Regions from separate parts of the Homo sapiens genome. Here region 1 is linked to region 2. Evidence: promoter capture Hi-C in human tissues and cell types (Jung and others, 2019). All regions are on one chromosome and are shown on one strand. Each heading gives the region's core, a stretch centred on a gene start or on the middle of the fragment in contact. The rest is flanking DNA. Distances are from core to core; before and after follow the strand shown.

Region 1 (4,079 bases), core at 34-2,533, 53 kb after region 2:
TTCCTAACTCCAGAGCGGGAAGGTGAAGCAGAGCTGGCTGGATTTGGTTCTGAGGGTGGAGGGAGAAAGGGCTGTGGAGAGGGGAGGTCTGAGCCCCCAAACCTGGGTACTGCCCACTCCCTCTCTACTGGAATGTTTCCACTTTCCTTCTATACCTTACTTTTAGGAAGATGGACCCAGGTGGGGTTTCAGGTCGGGGAGGGGAGGTCACAGAGGGGAGTATTACCAACAGGTGTCAGGAAACCAGTTCTGTCCCCCAAGGTTGTTTGAAAGCTGGGTCATGTGCCCCATCACACCCAGTGTGATGGCACACTCGCCTCCAGGCTCCCTGTGGGCTCCAAACCCTGGCCCTTGCAGTTCCTCCTGGCCCAAGGCTTTTCCAACCCCCAGCTGCTGCCTCTGTTGTGCACGTGCAGACACATACGCCTCTTCCCTCTTCTGCCCTCCTCCATGCAGGTCACTGGAACGTCTTCCTAGCCCAGACCCTGGAGCTGAAGGTCACGGCCAGTCCAGACAAAGTGACCAAGACATAACAAAGACCTAACAGTTGCAGATATGAGCTGTATAATTGTTGTTATTATATATTAATAAATAAGAAGTTGCATTACCCTCAGCCCTGCCTTCTGGGTTCATATCCAGTCTCCTGCATGCTCTCCTAGCAACTCCACAAGGCAGACCTGGTTATCCCCATTTTACAGGGGTGGAAACCAAGATCCAGAAGGGATAGAGAATGGTCCCAGTCCTCACAGTGAGTTGTCACCACAGCCAGGGCTAGCTCCCCCAGCCTCCTCACCCAGGCCCCCCACTGCAGCACCTCCTGCTTTTCCGGGCAGCCCCCCTCCCACAGCTCTTTGACACTGAGCCTCAGAAAGAGGAATGACTCTAATTAGCCAGGGGAGGGCGTTAATGGAGCCTTAAAGCACTTTCCCAGCAAGTATTCCTGGGATCCTCACCACTGTCTTCACACCCTACAATGAGGAAACCCAGTTAGGGAGGAGCAGCAGGCAGTCATTTGCCCAAAGCCGCAGAGCTGCTTAGTAGCAGATCTGGAGTTGGAAGCCAGATCTCTCGCTCCAGGCTAGCACTCCTTCCCCAGTTCCACAGTGTGGCCAGTGTCACGAGCCCAGATAGCCTCACCTCAGAGGATTTCCAAGACTGGGCGGTCAGATTGCTAACCTGGCACCATGCTCTGAGAAGGCCCAACAGTTAGCAATTAAAGACACCATTAGGGCCAGGCACGGTGGCTGACGCCTACAATCCCAGCACTTTGGGAGGCCGAGGGGGGTGGATCGTCTGAGGCCAGGAGTTCGAGACCAGCCTGGCCAACATAGTGAAACCCCATTTCTACTAAAAATACAAAAAATTAGCCAGGCATGGTGGTACACACCTGTAATTCCAGCTACTCGGGAAGTTGAGGCACGAGGATTGCTTGAACCCAGGAGGCAGAGGTTGCAGTGAGCCGAGATTGTGCCACTGCACTCCAGCCTGGGTGACAGAGTAAGACTCCATCTCAAATAATAATAATAATAATAATAATAAAATAAAGACACCATCAATTATTTACCCTGCCCACATGTACAAATCCTTATAATTTCAAAGATGTTTTAATGTCAATGATTTCACTTAAGGTGAAAGGTGTAGGCACTACCCACATTTTAGAGGAGGAGATGGGCTCAGGACCACCACATGTCTTCCCCAAAGCCTCACAGTGGTATGCTGAAGCCAGGGCTAGAACTCAGGCTCCCGGCCCCAGGCGGGGTTCTCTCCTCAGGACAGCTAGTCTCAATCCTCTCACAACCACGGCTCCTCCATCCCCTCCCCACCCAAGCCTGATCAAAGCTCCAGAGAAATGGTGGACAGTAGTCTGTTGACTGGACTTGTGCAGCCACTCAGAGGGCTCTGGCCATTGTCTCCACAGCCTTGGCCTTTTTTGTTTTTTTTTTTTAAGAGATGGGGTCTTGCTATATTGCCCAGGCTGGTCTAGAACTAATGGGCTCAAGCAATCCTCCTGCCTCAGCCTCCCAAAGTGGTGAGATTACAGGCATGAGCCACTAAGCCCAGCCTCCACAGCCCTAATCTTGAACCTAGGGTTACTAAGGTTTGGGAAGTCTGCTAAGGTTTGGGAAGTCTGATGCCACCCTTATTGAGCAGGGATGAGTGTCTCCCTCCCCTAACTCCTCTGCCAGCTCCCAGGGGTCTGGATTTGAAAGTTTGGGGTTTGAGGCTGGAATCTACCAACATCCCCTGAGTCAGAAGACATTCACCTTCTCCCCTCACAGCCTCTACCTGTCCCTCCTCAAGATGACTCACAATTTTGGCCTGGCTTGCTCACACAGAGGGTTCACTTGGAGCTCCAGGGATGGGTTCTGAGCTTGCCTCATTTAAAGTGCAGGAATCTGAAAGCTTAACCATTCACAGGATAAACTCTGGTCATCCTTCAGCCTATCTCAGATGTCTTCAGTGATACTTTCCCTGACACATCTGTGCCCTGTACCGTGGCTCCTTTCCTGGAAAATGGGGTTTGGAAACAGGGCTCTGTCATCAGAGGCAGTTCCAGGGTCTCCGGACAGGAGTGGACTTCGCTGTACACGTTTCCTGATGCTGCAGGCCAAATTGCCTTCCTGGTTTCTCTGATGGGCTTATGGGATGCCTCTGAGGTTCGCTTTTCCACCAGGGGGACACATTCAGCACACTGCCCTCTCCTGACTTTGGTCCAGACCTTTCTGTGTGTGTAAACATGGGCTCGCTATGTGAGTCTGCAGGCAGCTCTGCCATGTTGTCTTCTCTTTCATGGATTCATTCATAAAACAGCTTCGGCGCTGCTCTCGGGTGGGCTTTATGCTCGAGCACCAACACAGTGCAGGGAGCTAATTGCCCTTCCTGTGCTTTTAGAGCCTCAAGTCTGGAGGAGGAGATAGAGGAGGGAGCAGCATCCGAGCCCCTCAGTGTTGCCAGTGCTAAGGGCAGGGACCAAGGGGGCACAGCCCCAACCCAGACTGACGACACTCAAGCAGGCTCGGAAGGTGAGCAGGAGGTAGAAAAAAAAAGGGGGAGAGAGAGAGGAGGGTGGGTGACGGTACAGGAAGAGAAAACTTGGTAGACGGTGAAAAGTAGCAAGTTACGGCAGAACCACAAATAGCTCACTGTCACTGGATGATAATTTGAGGCAACGAGCAAAGGGAGGTGAGGCTGCACAGCTAGCTGAAGAGCTCTGACTGCATCCTGAAGGCTAGCAGGTAGCCCCAGGAGAGTTTCAATACTTTGGTCAGATTTGTGGTTGAGAACACTGGTTCTACCGGCCAGGTGAAGAATGGCCTGGCAGAGTGAGGCTGAGGCCAGGTAGGAGGTGGCTGTTATGGGATCCACGTGAGGATGACTCTGGCCTGGATAGGAGAGAGGTCATGGGCAAGGCACAACGGATGACTGGCTAGACTCAGGATTGAGGGAGAGCAAGGAGCAAGTGTGTACCTGGTGTCTCACTTGGTGATACCTTCTGGGAGAAGAAGCCAGAAGTTTCAGCTGAGCACACGCTGAGGCTCAGGAGGTATCCACAGCCCTCTGGGTTTAATAGGTCTGGAGAGAAAGCTGGGCTAGAGGCAGGGAGTTGGGAGCTGTTGACCTGTAGGTGGTAACTAAAGCTGGGAGAGGGGGTGACACTGGCCTGGGAGAGATGGTGGAGTAAACAGAGTGGGAGCAAGACGGACCCCAGAGCATCAGCAAAGGGTCAGCATGGCGGACAGGGAATAGGTCGGGGAGCAGGGTGCTGAGAGGGCCAGGGTGAGGCTGGCAAAGAGACCTTCGTGGAAACAAGGAGGCTCCAATGGCCACAGCAGGGAGCACAGTCAGGAGAGCTGAGAGGTGGGAGCTGAGTTTTAGGTGCTGAGACGGTTTCTGGGAAGTGAGGAAACAGACAAGCATTTTAAGAAAGCTGGCAGTAAAGAAGAAGAGAGGCAGGGCTGTGGCTGGCTGTGCACATGGGCTTGAAGAAGACAGCTTTTTGGCTGAGAGCAAGTCTCGGTGACGAGGCGATGCCCCAAGAGAGGGAAAATCAGGAGAAACAGGAGTGAGGATGGAGGAAG
Region 2 (4,292 bases), core at 449-2,948:
CCCCCTCAACCCCAGGAATAAAATAGCCCAATATCCTAGGACAGTGACAGGTGTCTCTGGCGGCTTGAATCAAAACAGAGTGCATTCTAGAACCTGTGGTTTCTAGAAGCTGCACTTGTATACACAAGCAATGCCTCTCTTTCCTTACCCAAAAAAACACATGGCAGAATTCCCAAAACAGAAGGTACAAATATCTGGCCTTTCGTGATTTATGTTTCTTGAAAATCTCATTCTAGGTAAGCATTTTTTATCAAACAGAGCTGCAGATGTTATGTTGACTGGGTGTGTCCCCAAAAGAATCCTAAGTTATAACAGTCTTATTTTATACAGGGCACTTTGCATTTCAAAGCTCAGAACCGAGGAATAGCAGGCTGCTGGTGTTAGGGGAAAGAAGTTCAAGGCAAGAGTCCTACAACAGACTTTTAATTGCCAGCAAGCCAGTAGGAAACCCATACTGCCAAGGAGATAGAAGCAGCCCCTGCCACCCAACCTTTGTTTCCAAAACTTTTAAACCCAAGCCAGCTTTTCTGTCAGGCACTACTGGACTTAGTAGTACTAGTATTACAAATATAAACGACAGTCACTTACTGCTTCCTCACTATGTGCCAAGTTCTGTGCTAAGCATACATTTTCCAAAATGTATGAAAACAACTGCACAAGTGTGCTCCCAACCCCCTCTGCTCTCGAGTCTGAAAAGCTCCCTTCACATCCTCAAATTCAACCTGTTCCCTAAACTCCGGATTCTCCACACCCTTCACTGACCCTTTCAAGGCCAGGAGCCACATCTCTCCAAGCAATATGACCCCCAAACTCTTCATCCAACATTAAACCAAGCACTTCTCTGATCCAAGGCCCCTCCCACTCCCACACACCAATTCCAACCTGCCCCTAACTTGTTCCAACAATTCTGTTTCCCTCCAAACTTCGGACTTACGTAAGGCACAGGGTGCCCTCACCGCCCCTCCGCATGCAACGTGCCTGTCCTTCACTCTGAAGTTCAAAATTCACAAACACACTGCACCTGGGTAGAGCCCGGGTTCTAATCCCACGAGAACTCTCCACACCCGCCCGAGTAGGGCCCGGGACTCTCCACCCCCTCACCAGGCCGGGCCGGGGCGCGCTCGGCCTCGCTCCAGACCCTAAGGGGAAGTGGGGAAGCTCCACCTGGCTCCGCAGGCGCGGCACGCGGCTCCTGCTCTGGCCTGGGCCCCGCGGCAGCCGCGCCCCCGTCCCGGCGCGGGCGGCAGCGCTCGGGTTGGCTGCGGCGGGCGCACTCGCCCAGCACCTCTGAGTCGGCCTGGCCGTCGTCGCGGGCCCGACGGCGGGCCCAGCCTGGGCCGCGGGCGCGGCAGCGAGGGCAACCCGGGCCCGCCGCGTCGGCGGCGCGTTGGGCGCAGCCTCGGCAAAGCGAGTGGCCGCACGGCAGGGCCGCTGCTTCTCCGGGGGGCTCCAGGCACCCGGCGCAGCCCGATTCCTCCGGCCGCGGCGGCAGCGGCGGCTGCAGCAACGGCGGCGACAACACCAACAGCGAAGGTCCAGAAGCCGGGCCTGGGGCCCCAGTCTTAGCTGCCGCCGTCTCGTCACAGCGGCCCCGCCGGCCCCGCCGACTCAGAGCGGCTGCTGCCGCCGCGGAAGAGGCCCGAGTACTCGGACCTGCAGCCGCCATCTTGTTTCCCGTTTGAAGGGAGAGTCGGTTGCGAGGGAGAAGAGTGGAGGGCGGGGCAGTACGCGCGGTGGGCAGTGCTATCTACATATTCATGAGGGGCGAGGCTTCTGTGAGCCCAAAGAGGGTTCTCCTCAGACCTGATTGGCCAGAGGGGATACTTCATTAATATTTATTAGTTATTCTTTATTATGCGGTCATCAGCCGCACTCTCGAAAAGTCCTTGCAGTTTCCTCTTACTGAACTGAAAGAGGTGGGAACTGAGGGGCTTTACTGGCAATTCTGAACGATGTTAAACTTTGATACACGTACTTATCCTGTAATGCCTTGATAACTGAGGAGAAAGTGAGTGGGGAATATGTGAGTTACTCAGAAACCTGCCTTAGTGTTCATTTGATATGAGGGCCTGAGCTCTCTCCTAAGGATGGGGGTAGCTTTGTGACTGAAACCAGGCCCACCGTGGTAACTAACTGCCAAAAGGAGCAGCCTCTTGTCAATCCTACCTCCTCATCCTCTCTCCCCATGTCCCTTCCTGAAACTGCCCCCCTTGGCTGGTAAAACCACACTTTCCTGGTTTTTTTCCCAGGCTCTTGGCTCCTTCTCAGTCTCCCGTGTTTGGTGCTTCCATGTGGGTGTTCCTCTAGGCTTAGGCCTCAGTCCCCTTCTCACTCTGCGTGCTGCACTGGTCCACATTTTCTTCCCTCAGGAGCTCCCAGATTGCTGTCTGCAGCCCAGGCCTCCTGAGTCCAGCCCTCCATATTCAACTGCCTGATGGAAACATCCTCTTAGATCCCTACATTCCTCATGTACAAAACTAATGTCACTGTCTCCCATCCTCCTTTCAAAACTGCTCTTCTTATTTCCTTCATTCTATGAAAGGTCCCATCCTCCCAGGTACTCAAGCTCCAAACCTAGTCATCTTGAACTTCTTCCTTATCTCCCACAAACCATCAGTTATTTAGTCCTGTCAATTCCACTATCAAAATGACTATTTCCCCACCTCTTCATCCCATTCCCACTGCCCAATTCAGGTCTAATCATCTCTCATCTAGATTACTGCAGTAGCTGCTATAGATTGATTGTCTCCCCTCTCCCAACCTCTTTTCTAATCCATCCTCCACACTCTTCGAGTTGCTTCCTATAGGCCAGCTCTGACCGTGTCACTCCTGCTTGAGCTAGGGAGAGGTGCTTGGACTTTGATGCTAGTGCCCTTTCTAGATGCAGAGGTTCCAGGAGAAAGAATGACCCCTCTCTAATGGAAAGGTGGTTCTGCTACAGTAGTTCTCCCATTCTTTGCTTTCTTTGCCCTGGGATAGATTTGGAGCAGGGCAAAGAATGGGAAGCATTAAATAAATGGCATTTCTTAGTGGAAACCTTTATAGGATAACACGAGTTTTGTAAAGAGAGAAAAATAAAAAAGCAACATAGGCTGGGGGCGGTGGCTCACGCCTGCACTTTGGGAGGATGAGGCAGGCAGATCGCTTGAGCTCAGGAGTTAAAGACCAGCCTGGGCAACATGGTGAAACCCCATCTCTACAAAAAATACAGAAATTAGCTGGGCATGGTGGCACTCACCTGTACTCAGGAGGCTGAGGCAGGAAGATCACTGGAGTCCATGAGGTTAAGGCTGCAGTGAGCCGTGATGGCACCACTGCATTCCAACCTGGACAACAGAATGAGACATTGTCTCAAAAAAAAAAATCAACATAATATAATAGAAGGCATGAGAAGCCCTGGGTTTTGATGAGATTGCCCAGAGCTAGCGGTAAACCAATCCAGTGCCGAGTGATTGATTAACTCAGAGAGCAGGGGGAAAAAAAGGTGATGGATTCCCAAGATAAGAACCAGATGGCTAAAGGACAGTCAAGAGTTGAAGAAAGGCCAATGGGTGATTAAAACAAAGACCTGTTTGCATAGAGACCCAGACAGAATCCTGCCAGACACAGAAGTATGGCCTTGGCTAGGCTATCCTTTATCCATGGGTCCTGCCCACTTCCATCCCAACTTAAGGTTCTTGAGGACATTTTTCCCGGATTCTGACAAAGGAGATCTGTGATCCAGAGATCAAGCCAACCATCATTAGAAATGGGACCATTTGTGCAGGCTGTTCACTCTCGATGGTTTGGATCTTTTAATCTGTTTACTGTTGGAGGAGCTGAGCCACAGAAACATAGCATGCTTTCTTGGATACAAATAAATATAGAAAATTTCCTTTAGCAGAGGGAAAAAGCAAGAGGTCTGAGTAGCACTGGACCAGAAGCCAGGAGATCTGGGGTTGGTCTTGGCCCCTTCTAACTCACTGTGTGATTTCAAACAGCTAACTTCCTTCTGGGCCTCAATCTCCTCATTTTTAAAACAAGAGTATTGAAGGCTTGGTGCTGTGGCTCACGCCTGTAATCCCAGCACTCTGGGAGGCCGAGGCAGGCAGATCACGAGGTCAGGAGACCAAGACCATCCTGGCTAACACGGTGAAACCCCGTCTCTACTAAAAATACAAAAAATTAGCCGGGCGTGGTGGCGGGCGCCTGTAGTCCTAGCTACTCGGGAGGCTGAGGCAGGAGAATGGCGTGAACCCGGGAGGCGGAGGTTGCAGTAAGCCGAGATGGCACCACTGCTCTCCAGCCTGGGC

Evidence for each region. Contacts are between HindIII fragments. The study calls those that stand out against the background at their distance.
Region 1: a fragment that was not itself captured here is called in contact with the fragment with the promoter of RNF169 in region 2 in 1 of the 25 tissues and cell types used here (H1 embryonic stem cells).

What each region holds. Positions count from the first base shown.
Region 1 is chr11:74,692,963-74,697,041 of GRCh38, reverse strand. It overlaps CHRDL2 (chordin like 2), which reads left to right. Exons shown (of 11, transcript NM_001278473.3): 11 at 457-613. The coding sequence ends at 533. Among named protein-coding and RNA genes, the nearest start is that of MIR4696, 25 kb to the left of the region's middle. RefSeq lists an enhancer at 1-418. The HindIII fragment of the contact is 8,297 bases long and covers 1-4,079 here.
Region 2 is chr11:74,746,255-74,750,546 of GRCh38, reverse strand. RNF169 (ring finger protein 169) reads right to left here and starts at 1,698. Exons shown (of 6, transcript NM_001098638.2): 1 at 1,165-1,698. The coding sequence starts at 1,666. RefSeq lists silencers at 924-1,023, 1,034-1,293, 1,324-1,473, 1,647-1,867 and enhancers at 841-1,434, 1,584-1,673. The HindIII fragment of the contact is 10,658 bases long and covers 1-4,292 here.